Regions from separate parts of the Homo sapiens genome. Here region 1 is linked to region 2. The links are contacts of gene promoters, found by promoter capture Hi-C in blood cells and fetal thymus (Javierre and others, 2016). All regions are on one chromosome and are shown on one strand. Each heading gives the region's core, a stretch centred on a gene start or on the middle of the fragment in contact. The rest is flanking DNA. Distances are from core to core; before and after follow the strand shown.

Region 1 (6,242 bases), core at 3,012-5,511, 240 kb before region 2:
CTACTTTCAATAGAGTGCTCTGTGCAGAAATATAACAACTTTCTCAAGATGTTATATTTAATCAGTTATCTAAAGGATACGGTTGTGGTGGGAGAGAGGGTGGCTGTGAAAAGCAGCTTAAACAGAGACAACAGCATTTCCTAGGCCCCTGAGGTGCAGAAAATATCTTGGCATATTGGAAAAAGCAGTGTGGCTGCATTCGAGTGGGCAATAAAGAGAGGAGCATAGACGGGGGTGGAAGGATAAGTAAGGGTCAGACTGTGCAAGGCTATGTGAGCCATGGTAAAGGGGTTTAGATTTTATCCTAAAAGCAACAATTTGCTTAATTCAATTTGTGAGAAAGGTTGTTGCTACCACTCTATCAAAAACGTATTGGAGTGGTTAAGAGTGGTAGCAGAGAGACCAGGTGGGACTGGTGTCACAATATCCCGGTAGGAAAGAATAGACAACTCCATTAAAAAGTTTAGTTCTAAAGGAGAGCTGAGAGATGGTTCACAGATGGAGAAGACGTGCACGAGGGAAGGTGTGGTTAAGATGAAAGACACTGGAGCATGTGTGCAGGGAATAATCCATTGAGAGGAGGCAGGATTGATGATGCAAAAGAGAGAAAGGGGAAAACCTAAGGAAGAAGTCCTTGAAAAGGCAAGGGGGCTGGGATTCGGGGCATGACAGGAGGAGCTAATCTGTGAAGCTCCCTCTATTATCACAAAAAGGAAGGTTACCAAGGTAACTGGGTTGGAGGATCTTGTGGTGACAAGATGAGAAAGTCTGTATGTAGTAAATTCTGTTTTCTCAGGCAAATGTGAAGTAAACAGGGAGGAAAAGATCAGAACATTTTGAGGAGATGAAAAGGTATGAAGAGTAGTCTCAGATGTGGAGAACTGAGACTACAGTAGGAACAACAGCACCAACTTGAGGTTTGAGTTAATGGATTGGAAGTAAAAATGAATTGGCTGAACTGTGTACTTTTCTCAAAGAAAATGTTCAGTTGTCCCAGTAAGGCCCATGGAAGGCAGATGGTAAGATTTCTCCAGAGTTGAGATTTTGCCAGGAAAATTAAGAAATTGCTGTTCAAGAGTGCTGAAAGCAATGCATTTCAAGGAGAATGATCATGATAATGGATCACAGAATCTAGACTAAGCAAGGACGAGAACGCAAGACAGGGGCTGATAAACAGTGGGGAAAAAATGAAGCAACGAATTAGCTGTCAGTGAGCAAGGAATCTAGGATAGGAAGATGGTGATCAGAGCATGGAATGTCTGATGATGTGCTAGTTCAGGTCCTCTTAGAAGCAGACACCAAGACAGGGTTCAATGTGCAAGAGTTTTATTAAGGGAACTCCTGTGAAGGATAAACAGAAGGAAGCAGGAGCGGGGAAGGGAGACTTCATATCATAATACAGGTCTGACACCTGTGAAAGGAGAGGGGAACTGGGCCCAAGAGCCTCAGGCTGCATGCAGCATAGTTCTCAGAAAGTTTCAACCAGCCGGCTCAGGTGTTTCCAAGCCAAACTTGCTCATCAGAGGAGTCCTACATCTTCCATGAACGTGCCACCACCAACACCCCGTGCTGTGCCCGCTCACTGACTGGGAGTAGTGCCAGAGAAGCATGGCTTCAGTGCAAACCCAGCAGTGTATGCCTTGGGAAGGCAGGGGGACCTGTCAGTCACTTCCGCTCCGTGGAGCAGGAGATCTGAGAGGCCATGGTCACCACAGACAAGACTGTAGAGAGGATGCGGATTCTAATGATGACATGGTCTAGAACTGTGGTAGCAAGGACTGATTCTGAAGGGGAGAAATAATTACTGGAGATGAAGTTACAGGAAGGAGGGGACTGGATGTTGGAGTTCAAGTTCAACCACAGTTGTGCATAACACAACTCCAAGTTGTGTCAAGCACCCCACAGTCACTGAGGATTTGGACAGTTATTAAAACAATCTTCTGGCAGATGGCAATATTTGGGGTTGTGGCGGGGGGGTGGGGAGGTGGGCGGGGGGAAACTAGTTTGTCGATGCCAGGATTTGAGGTGAAGGTTCAAGTAGGAGCTAGTCTTTGAAGAACTAATCATGACAAAACTCACTAGGAATAGGAAATCTATAAATTACAGGCTGAAAGGAAAAGGATGGTATTGTCCAGTGACAAGATTCTCAAAGAAGCCGGGATTTTGGCAGGCAGAGGACGTGCTGCTCTGCGAACAACCACGACTCGCACGGAGGCCGCCCCCAGCCTGTCCCTAAGGCACGTGGTCCTCTAGAGGGCTTCGCGGGAGAGTTCTGGCTCAAACCAGGGACGGCGAGGGCAAGGGGTGAAAGGGGTTTGAGGCGAGGCAGAGGACTCAGGGGTCTGCGGACGGCTGGTCGGCCCGTGGAGACGGCCGCGGCGAGGCGCCTGAGGTACGGCGGTGCGGAGCGAGGGCGAGGTCCCGCCGGCGGCCAGGCGGCGGCGCTCACGGAGCCGCGGGCTTCCCCAGGCCCCGGGCAGCGTGCTGGAGCTCTCGGGCGGCGCCGCCGCGGAGCTTGGCGCGGCAGCTGGCAGCGGCCTGACGCGTGGTGACGGCGCCCGCGGGCAGGCAGCGGCTCCCGGGGGCGGCCGGGCGCAGGGCGGCGGCGCTGCGGGACGACGGCTTCGCGAGGCTTCGGCCCGCACGGGTGGCAGCGGTCCCCAGGGAGGAAAGACAAAGATATGCGGGTTAGAAACCAAGGAAAGAGCGCCGACGCCTCTCAGCCCCGCAAGAGCTGCAGACCCACGGGCAGTGCGGTGCCACTTTCGCCCAACAGGGTGCCAAGAGAGAAAACTGCGGTGGTCATAGGAAAACAGATCCAATTCAGGTCTCATGCAACAACTTGGTGGCAATTTAGGAAAATGTATCAAAACCCTTAAATGTCTGAATACTCTTTGACCCAGAAAGTCTAGCTTGAGAATTTTCCCTTAAGGAATAATTATGAATACCTACAAACTTTTCATACAGGGTGTTCAGTGCAGTATCTATAATAGAAAAAAAAAATGCCAGAAAAAAATGGCAAAAAAAAAAAAAAAATGGGAATGTCCTACACCCAACAATAAGGTATTGGTTATAGTCTTTTTCTTACAGCGAATACTAAACTGCTATTGAAATAATGCTGTGAAATAATACGTAATGATATGGAAAAGAATTGATACTATATGCAATGAAAAAAATCAGTTTCATCCCCATTTGTACCATGTGAGTGTATACTTACGTGTACATGTGTGTACACACGACACATCACATATGTAATAATGGACAGAAACACATCAAAATGTTAAGCAGTTATCTCCAGGTGATAAAGCTGCAGGTAACGCTTTTTTAACTTATGTTTCCCAAATTTCATACAAGTTTGTTTTACAGTAAAAAATATAATACAAGGAATTTTACTCCATTCTTATGTACCCATTCTATATTTATCTCAATTCAAATTTATGAAAATCTTTCTTTTCTATTGTGTAGCAAAGTGGTGGACATCAAAAGATTTTAAAAAATGAAGAGTCCACAAAAGTAGTTTATCTTCCTCAAAAGTTCTGCGTAAATTACAGTATTACAGAAGAGTTTATTGCTTAAACACTTTGCAGTTAATCAAAGCTACTGTCTTTTGTGACATTATATCTTATTTAACTCTAGTAATAATTTCCACTTTAGAAAAAAAAAAATCTGGGCTTTTGAGAAATGTAATTTGATTTGTAATTTCCAGACTTGGGAACACACAGTTTGCTAAAAACAGAAAAATGTGGGACAAATGTTTTAGATCATACCAATGTTTTAGAGTAATTCAATGAATCTCTCTTTAGTTTGAAATAATTGAATGGGATCAAAACTAAAATATGGCAATGAACTAGAATCTAAGCTTAACATCCTGGTCTCCCAATCATAAATTAATTTAAAATTTTAAGTTAATACCTAGGGAGTCTGTTTTGCTAAGCCTTGTTCCAGGAACATGCATAAAAGTGATAATAAAATTATAATAATATAACACAGGAGAGGGGTTCCAGGACTTTGTTATTAGATTGATAGAAGATCCTCTGTAAGTTTCAGATATATTTTAAGCTGAAGTGAGCTCAGAGTTGTCAGGCTGATTTTATCTAATGATGAGCAAATCCAAGATTAGATGTTTATTGGAATGTTGCTTTGTTGCTTAAACAGATGACATAAGTAATCACACCATCCTGTAAGTTTCCTTCACCCTGAAGGTACTGGATACAATTATTGTGTCTGGAAGCATACTTTTGGTAAAAATTATCAGAAATAAATAAAATGTCCAAAGAGAATAAATCCTCTTAAGGCCAAAAGTTTGTGTTAACCACCTGCTCCTGAATAAAATGAAGGTTATAGGAGCTTTTAATAAAACATTTTCTCTCAAAAACCTTAATATTCCCCAAATGATGTAACCAAACAATGTTAAATACAAATAAGACAGAAGAGCATTTATTATTGGTGCTACAGTCCAGCTTTCACTATTCATACAGTGATTTCAATTTAACTCAACATTTTTGGAGTCCCTATTATGTCTCCTGCACTGTGCTCAGACAGTATGAACAAAAAAGATAACACAAGGTTCCTACCTTTGAGAAGCTCTAGCTAGAAAATTACCTTCAGATTACTCAGATGCGGGGGATAACCTGAATCCCTAAATTACTCGCCATTGTCGTGTCAAAGCTTCGCATCCCATATTCTTCAAATGAGCTGATTTCCTCTCATTCCTTTGCTCAGATTTATCCAGAGCAACCTACTGCCTCCACAATAGCTAAATCGATAGAGATTCTGACTAAAGATATGGACTTCCTCCTCCAGAAACATGCGCAGAAGTGCATACACCATTTACTTCGTTTCACTGCACTGGAAGATGATTTACTGAACATAAGCAATATTTGTAAAGGATTATGCCTCCGTTCTCTTTTGAAAGAAAAATGACTGTTTCCTGGAAAAAAAATTTAGAAAATTCTGACTGTTCAGTAGTACATCTCAATGAGATCTAGTTTAAATGAGTTGAAACTGTGCTTTGGCTTTTGACATAGCAACATATACTTCATCTTTGATAACCCATTACAACTTTTTCCCTATGGCAACAAGTGCTGAAATCCTTGACTCACAAAGGTACGTATTTAATAGAACGAAAGCAGAATTGCATAGAATGGAATTTGCCAGGTTAAGGTGGCCTGCACACTGTAACACCAAATTCCTCCAAGACTTTCAAGTTAGATTCAAGTCACATTATTTCCTCTGCCTTCAAGTTCAATTAGACTTCTGGAAAGTCAGCAGATTTCTGTCTGGTTAGAGAAAAACATCTTACCCTGCTCCTGTTTCTTGGCAACACCTTTTGGAAAGGTGGTAACAGCTGCTGATATGGAAAGCACCGAGGCACAATGACGTGCAGCAATCCTTTCCTCATCAAGCAGGAAAACCATGCTGTGTTGCTGACATCACAGGTGCACCAGCTGCCCCCAGAGTGCAATTTTTCTTCTTCCATTTGAATATTTATTGAGAACGAATATTTTGAAGATGTTGACAGTCTTTCCAGTTTCCAAAAGGTGTTCTTAAATGGAGTTCTCCTTTGATGACATCAGCAAGCACATGAAAATGTGAAGCTGGATGCACTGAGAGGCATCAACAGTTTCATTCATTTGCATGCTGAAGAGAAATATGCAGAGCTGCCCATTTCTTCCAAGTCTGAAGTGAGTGATGTCATTTGACAGAAGTAGGGCCTTAATTTTCTTTCATGGACCACATTTAAGAACCTTTGAGTCAAACTATTTGATTCTGCACTCCCCTTACACTATTGTTTCCCACCTCTGTACTTTTGTTCTTGGCATTTCACCCATCGAAAAATGTTTTCTCCCTGCTCTCATCTATTCAAATCCTGTCCATCTCTCAAGACCTAGACCAAAGCCAGTCTCTTTCATTAAGCTTTCCCTGACTACTGCAGCCTGAAATGATCTCTCTTCTGAACTCTGACAATGGTTCCTATCTTTGACAGTTCTCAAAATGTGGTTCTGAGACCACCACCTTTAAAAATGCACCATATTATGTATTTTTACAAGCACCAGAAAGAGCTGTGGTAATTTTTCCTGTTTTCCTGAATCTTCTTTGCAACTCTTAAAAGAATAACTCACTTCCCAGATGGATGGAGAGAAGACTGACAATGATTATTTTTGCTGGGGTGATCAACTGACTCATCTGAATCATTCCTTTCTGTACTCATTTTCACACAAATGTTTTGATTTGTCAGTTGT
Region 2 (6,932 bases), core at 857-3,356:
GAAGGTGAGGGCTTCGGGTGGTGCTATAATGTGGCACTGGATCTTGAGTAATAAATTTGCTGTGGTTTGTACACGGTGTTGTCTGTAGCCTGCAAAGGAGAGGCTAGGTTACTGGGTACCAAGAGACAACGTGGGAGAGGATCAAAGCAGCTAAGGCTGCAGGGCAACCCCACCCACACATACCCTCAGCTCAGCTTCTCCCTCCTTATTCTTGGGCTGGAAATACTGTAGGGTTTACAGTGGTGCAAATCTCATTCCTTCCCAGCTCCAAGGAGCCTTTGCTGAAGATTACAGGATCTCCCTTCATAGTTCCATGAACCACGTAATTGTTTCCCATCATTCTCGTAGCTACTTAGAGCCGTTCTTAATGTTTGCCTTACACATTAAAATTAGAGGGGGAGAGAATGTGCGTTAATAATACGAATCCTGAGGTACATTTCAGAAAATGTGATTCATCAGGACTAGTCTGATGCCCAACAATATGCATCTTTAAAATTACCCAGAGGAGGCCGGGCGCAGTGGCTCACGCTTGTAATCCCAGCACTCTGGGAGGCTGAGGCAGGCGGATCACGAGGTCAGAAGATCGAGACCACGGTGAAACCCCATCTCTACTAGAAAAAAAAAAATACAAAAAATTATCCAGGCGTGGTGGCAGGCACCTGTAGCCCCAGCTACTCAGGAGGCTGAGGCAGGAGAATGGTGTGAACCTGGGAGGCGGAGCTTGCAGTGAGCTGAGATCGTGCCACTGCACTCCAGCCTGGGTGACAGGGTGAGACTCCGTCTCAAAATAAATAAATAAATTAAATAAATAAATAAAATTACCCAGGGAATTCTGCCACTAATAGTCTATTACCCTTATTTTATAAAACATCGGTGGGGTCTGGGGCTTGTAGTTCCTTGCTGCACACCACTGAGACTCTTGCTACTTGGGAAGACCCCTCCTATGGGGAATAGGAAAGCAGGTATAAGGAACCACGGGTGGCTGGGCACTGTGGCTCATGCCTGTAATCCTAGCACTTTGGGAGGCTGAGGTAGGAGGATTGCTTGAGCCCAGAAGTTAAAGACCAGCCTGGGCAACATGGCAAGACCCCATCTCTACAAAAAACAAAAATAAAAAATTACCTGGGCATGGAGATGGACACCTGTGGTCCCAGCACCTCAGGAGGCTGAGGCGGGAGGATCGCTTGAGCTTGGGAGATCAAGGCTGCAGTCAACTGAGATGCACTCCAACCTGGCTAGCAGAGCAAGACCCTGACTCAGAAAAAGGAACCAGGGGTGTGGCTTATTCCCCAAGTGTGATCGACTGCCCATTTTCCCTTGGATCCTAGCCAGGCTTAGGCAGAACTCATCATCACTTGTTTTTGCCTTTGTTTTTCTTTCATGTCACTTTTCCAGGTTCTGAGCTGGGTTTTCTCCTCAAGCTTTGCAGGAAGTGAGTCCAAGAGACTATAACTCAGAGATTCTTTGGAGGGGAAAGATACCCTTGCAGGAGCTCTATCTGCCCAGCCAGATGTCCTACCCACTGGCAGAGCAGCTGGGGTTGAGGAGGGGTGCTTGGTGCTCTCTCCACCTAGGCCCTTCTCCTTACCCAGGTCCTGAGCCAGCCTTCCTGATGAATATGAGTAATTTGATGTCAACTGATTAACTAGGGTTTCCTCATACTCCCTGCAAAATAGCATCTGGAACATTTTGACCTCATCCTCCTAAGGGCCATAAAAGCTGATAGATTTTTCTTGGTTATCTTGAACTTAACAAAATACTTGAGTTGCAAGGGAGCCAGGCAGAACTCACTTCCTTGGGAGAAAGGAGGTTGCTTTCTATCCTGTTACCAGAATGAGAAACGGAGGTAAAGAAAGGAAAAAACTTGCCTAAATTCACAGGTTGAAGTTCCGGATCCTGGTCTCAGCTCAGCCTACTTTGGTGCCCAAAGGGGAATAGGAAGGCAAACACCGGAGGCTCTGCACCCGCCTCCTCTAGGCCATGGATTAATGCTGCTGCGCCAGGGCCCTTTCCCCACTGTGGTGTGATAAGAGGCTGCCCTCACAGTCACAATGCTCCCGGGTCACAGAGGTGCTGGGCCCCAGGCCAGCCTCTGCCTGGGAAGTTCTCTCTGGGAACATCTGGTGGGTACTACAGGCCCTATTCCAGGCCCTATGGCCTGTGGAACCTCACCACGGGGGGGAGGGCTGGGCCAGACGGAGACATCACCTGTGGTGTCAGCCCCATGGATGAGACAGAGTGGATACACAGACATCCCAAGGCTGAGGACCTAAGGGTTGGGCTCATCAGCTGGGCAGGAACCTACCTCACCTTTGAGGCATGCAAGAATACAGTCACTGCAACTGCGAAGAGTTTGGGCAGGAGACAGGTGACAAAGCAAACCCATGCTGGCACCAGTTTTCTGAGTGGCCAAGCTGTGTGTGTGTGTGTGCGCGCGCGCGTGTGTGTGCGTGAGTGTATGTGTGTGTGTGTGTGTATGTACTTGCCTGTATATGAAAGTATACTGGAACCGGTTTTCTGAGTGGCCAAGCTGTGTGTGTGTGTGTGTGTGTGTGTGTGTGTGTGTGTACTTGCCTGTATATGAAAGTATACTGGAACCAGTTTTCTGAGTGGCCAAGCTGTGTGTGTGTGTGTGTGTGTGTGTGTGTGTGCGCACTTGCCTGTATATGAAAGCAGGGTGTACTCTCAACCTAATCACTTTCCTAGGTTCTGCCAGTGCCAGGCCTGAGACTTTTCTACTCTAGGCTTTTGTTCACAGACCCTATTGCCCCATCTCCCACCTCTCAATTTATTCCGCAAGGTGAAGCCTCAGCCTTGCCCTTGCTGCCTTGTCCTGCTCTAACTGTCCCTATTCCCCATCCCAGCACAGGGTGGTTGTGTCAGAAAGAAGAGAAGTGGAGAGCACAGGGTGGTTGTGTCAGAAAGAGGAGAAGTGGAGAGCCCAGGTGGGAAAGCAGAATTGTGGGCATCCAGGGGAAGTTGGACCAGTGGAGTTATTGCAAAGCCTATGTTTCTGTTCTGGTTGTGGTTTGAGAATGGGGAACTCCAGAAGCCCTAGCAGTGTCGGTCTTCATTCTAGAGAGGAATGTAGGCACCTCTGGGATGGGTGCCAGACTGAGGCAGGGGCAAAGTTCTTCCTCTTATAACAAGGTTGATCACAGCTGAACCAGGCAGTTGCATCTGAACTGTTCATGCTCCCATCTTCATCCCTGGAGCCAGGGCCTGCCTATAAGAGCTTTTGCTTCTGTCTTGCCATGCTGGAAGGCAACCTTTGGGGATGGAGGTATTGGCTAAGTGTGCTCTCTGCGGACAACAGTGAGGAAGAAAAAAGTAAGACTTACACCAAAGCGTTTCTTTAAAAATTAGGTATTGAAGAGTGGGATTAAGAAAGGAGGGAGGGTTTACCTTCTGTTAGCTGAAGGAGGTAGACATCTAGAACTTCTCTTTGGATAGTGCCATCTGGCTGCAGGGGTGGAAGGGCCCAGAGATCTCTTGATGAGGGGATAGTGGGAAAGTGGAAGAGCTGACAGCAAGGAGATACCAGGGCTGATGTGGAAGAGGAGGTGGCTGGTGCTGATGAAGGTGCCAGGGTGATACCAGCCATGACAGTTGCAGGGCTCCTTGGTCTGGTAACTTCGTGATACTGATTTCCCTCTTCTCCCTCCTGATGCCTCCAGACCTGGGAGATCTTGGTGAGCAATGAGCATGAGACACAGGCCGTGGTGCGACTAAAGAGCGTGCAGGGCCTCTACCTGCTGTGTGAGTGTGATGGCACCGTGTGTTATGGCCGCCCAAGGACCAGCCACCATGGGTGCTTTCTACTGCGTTTCCACCGGAACAGCAAGTGGACCCTCCAGTGCCTAATCTCTGGTCGTTATTTGGAGTCCAATGGCAAGGACGTGTTTTGCACTTCCCACGTCCTCTCAGCTTACCACATGTGGACCCCCCGACCAGCCCTCCATGTCCACGTGATCCTCTACAGCCCCATCCACCGCTGCTATGCCCGGGCTGACCCCACTATGGGCCGCATCTGGGTGGACGCAGCAGTTCCCTGCCTGGAGGAGTGTGGCTTCCTGTTGCATTTCCGAGATGGATGCTACCACCTGGAGACCTCTACACACCACTTCTTGTCCCATGTAGACCGGCTGTTCTCCCAACCCTCATCACAGACAGCTTTTCACATGCAAGTGCGGCCTGGAGGGCTTGTGGCACTGTGTGATGGAGAAGGAGGCATGTTATATCCACAGGGCACGCATCTGCTCTTGGGCATGGGCTGCAACCCCATGAGGGGTGAGGAGTGGTTCATCCTACAGCACTGCCCAACCTGGGTCAGCCTCAGGTCAAAGACTGGGCGGTTCATCTCAGTCATCTACGGCAAGTGCTGGACCCAACACAGATGGAGGGAGAGAGGGCTGGCTGTTAAAAAGAGGAAAATGTGTTTGGGATCAGCACAGATTTTTGAGTCTGCTAATAAGGAAGATCCTGGGGACCCAAGGGGATCTTTTGTGCCATCGAGAAGGACAGAAAAGCATGGGTATGGGATTTAGGGGAAAGTTGCCTAGGTCTTCTCCAGACCTACCATGGTCCAACAGAAAGTGATGAAGTTTGAGGAGGGAGGGACAGAAGCCCCGGTCATAAAACATGGAGGAGGGGCCGAGACTGAGGGGAGGCTTTTACTGACATGCGCTTCCTCTGCAGATGGTGAGGTGCGTGCTGCTTCTGAGCGCTTAAACCGAATGTCCTTGTTCCAGTTTGAATGTGACAGTGAGAGCCCCACTGTGCAGCTTCGTTCAGCCAATGGCTACTACCTATCCCAGGTGAGACCTTGGCTTCCTGAGCAAGAGAAACCTTAAGCTCTGAGCTCTCCCTCCCTAGACTTCCTTCTCCTTTTTCAAGGCAAATGATGAGAGGATGATGTGGGCTGTGGAGGCACTTGTTGATAAACATTCATTTTCACCCAATGGGGGCTCCTTTAAAAAAAAAAAACAAAAATCAACTTTATTAAGGTATAATTTGAAAGTTTGTAAATTATATAATACACATATGTATAAATTATGTATATTATTTACAAATAAGTATATTATGTATGTTTTATAAATAAAATGCACCTATTAAGTATAAAATTCAGTAAGTTTTGACAAATGTATCCATCCATGCAACCATGCCGTAAGCATATCACAAGTGAGAAAATATTTCCAACACCACAAACTTTCCTCCTGCTTCTTTGCAGTCAGTTTCCCTCCACCCTTGCCTCCCTCTCCCAGCTACCACTGATCTGTGTTCTGTCTCCGTGAATTAGATTTGCCTACCTACTTTAGCGTTTCTGATCAATGGAAACATACAGTATGTATGGTACATACATTTCTTGTGCTTGGCACAATGTTTTTAAGGTTCGTTCACATAATGTTCGTGTGTCAGTAGTTCATTCCTTTTTATTGCCGAGTGGTATTCTATAATGCTGCTCATAAACATGATTTGTTTATCTATTCACTTGTTGATGAACACTTGGCTTGTTTCTAGTCTGGGCTATTATGAATAAAGTTGCTATAAGCATTCATGTACAAGTCTTTTTGTGAACATACATTTTCATTTATCTTGGGTAAATATGTAGGAGTGGAATTACTAGGTTGTATAATAGATATGTGCTTAACTTTGGAAGAAAGTGTCAGTTTTCTAAAGTGATTATACTATTTTACATTCTTGTCAATAACGTATGAGGGTTCTAAGAATTCCATATCCTCACCAATAGTAAAGCTGGCTTTTGGATTGTCTTTTTTATTTTAGCCACTCTAGTGGGTGTGTAATTTATGGATTTAATTCACATTTACCTTATAATTAGTAAGGTTTAGAATTTTTTTTTTTTTTTTGAGATGAAGTCTTGCTCTGTTGCCTGGGCTGGAGGGCAGTGGCTCAGTCTCGGCTCACCACAACCTCCGCTTCCTGGGTTCAAGAGATTCTCCTACCTCAACCTCCCAAGTAGCTGGGACTACAGGCATGCGCCACCATGCCCAGCTAATTTTTTGTATTTTTAGTAGAGATGGGGTTTCACTACATTGGCCAGGCTGGTCTCGAACTCCTGACCCCATGATCTGCCCGTGTCAGCCTCCCAAAGTGCTGGGATTACAGGCATGAGCCACCGTGCCCGTTTTCATGTGCTCATTGGACATTTGTATATCTTCTCTGTGACATATCTATTCAGATGCTTTGCCATTTGTTACTGGGTTGTTTGTCTTATTAATGCGTTGTAAGTGGTCTTCATGTGTTCTAAATCCAAGTCCTTTGCCAAATATATGTATTGCAAAAGTTTTCTCCAAACCTGGGGCTTACCTTTTTATTTGTTTAATGGATCTTTTGAGAAGCAAGTTTTTAATTTCAGTGAAGTTCAGTTTATCAATTTTTTTAAATGGTTACTGCTTTTCTTGTCCCAAGAAATCATTGCCTACCCCAAAGTTGCAAAGAACTTCTCTTATGTTTTCTTCTAGATGTTTCATAGTTTAACTTTCACTTTTATGCCTATGATCTACTTTAAAATGATTTTGGAGTCAAGACTGAGGTTTATTTCTCTCCCTATGATATCCTGGCGTAGTTTTTATGCTGTGCTCTGGGATACAGCACAGACTGGGGGAAGGGGAAGAGCTGAGGCCACAGCACATCTTCCAAAAAGGTTCTGAAAGCATCAACTCTGGGAGCATGAAAAAGGCTGATGAGTGGGATGTGGGAAGAGGGTCTAGGAATAAAACTGATGGGAAGAAAGCTGAGATTGTCAGTCCTTACTCCTCATCTCTGTTTCTGACATTCTTTCCAGAGGCGCCACAGGGCAGTAATGGCTGATGGGCACCCCCTGGAGTCTGACACGTTCTTCCGAATGCACTGGAACTGTGGCAGGATCATCCTGCAGTCCTGCAGGGGGCGCTTCCTGGGCATTGCACCCA

The links. The method cuts DNA at HindIII sites, captures the fragments that hold promoters and counts their contacts. A CHiCAGO score of 5 or more calls a contact.
Region 1: a fragment that was not itself captured here is called in contact with the fragment with the promoter of FSCN3 in region 2 in 1 of 17 cell types (naive CD4 T cells); the score reaches 5.0 in naive CD4 T cells.

Annotation. Positions count from the first base shown.
Region 1 is chr7:127,345,412-127,351,653 of GRCh38, forward strand. It overlaps a transcript of ZNF800 not described here. Among named protein-coding and RNA genes, the nearest start is that of ZNF800, 44 kb to the right of the region's middle. RefSeq lists a silencer at 2,350-2,719. The HindIII fragment of the contact is 809 bases long and covers 3,858-4,666 here.
Region 2 is chr7:127,591,630-127,598,561 of GRCh38, forward strand. It overlaps FSCN3 (fascin actin-bundling protein 3), which reads left to right and starts at 2,107. Exons shown (of 7, transcript NM_020369.3): 1 at 2,107-2,368; 2 at 3,678-4,374; 3 at 4,699-4,817; 4 at 6,806-6,932. The coding sequence starts at 2,225. It overlaps ARF5 (ARF GTPase 5), which reads left to right. Exons shown (of 6, transcript NM_001662.4): 6 at 1-71. LOC105375489 (a long non-coding RNA gene) reads right to left here and starts at 611. Exons shown (of 3, transcript XR_007060513.1): 1 at 500-611; 2 at 184-375. The HindIII fragment of the contact is 6,131 bases long and covers 1,420-6,932 here.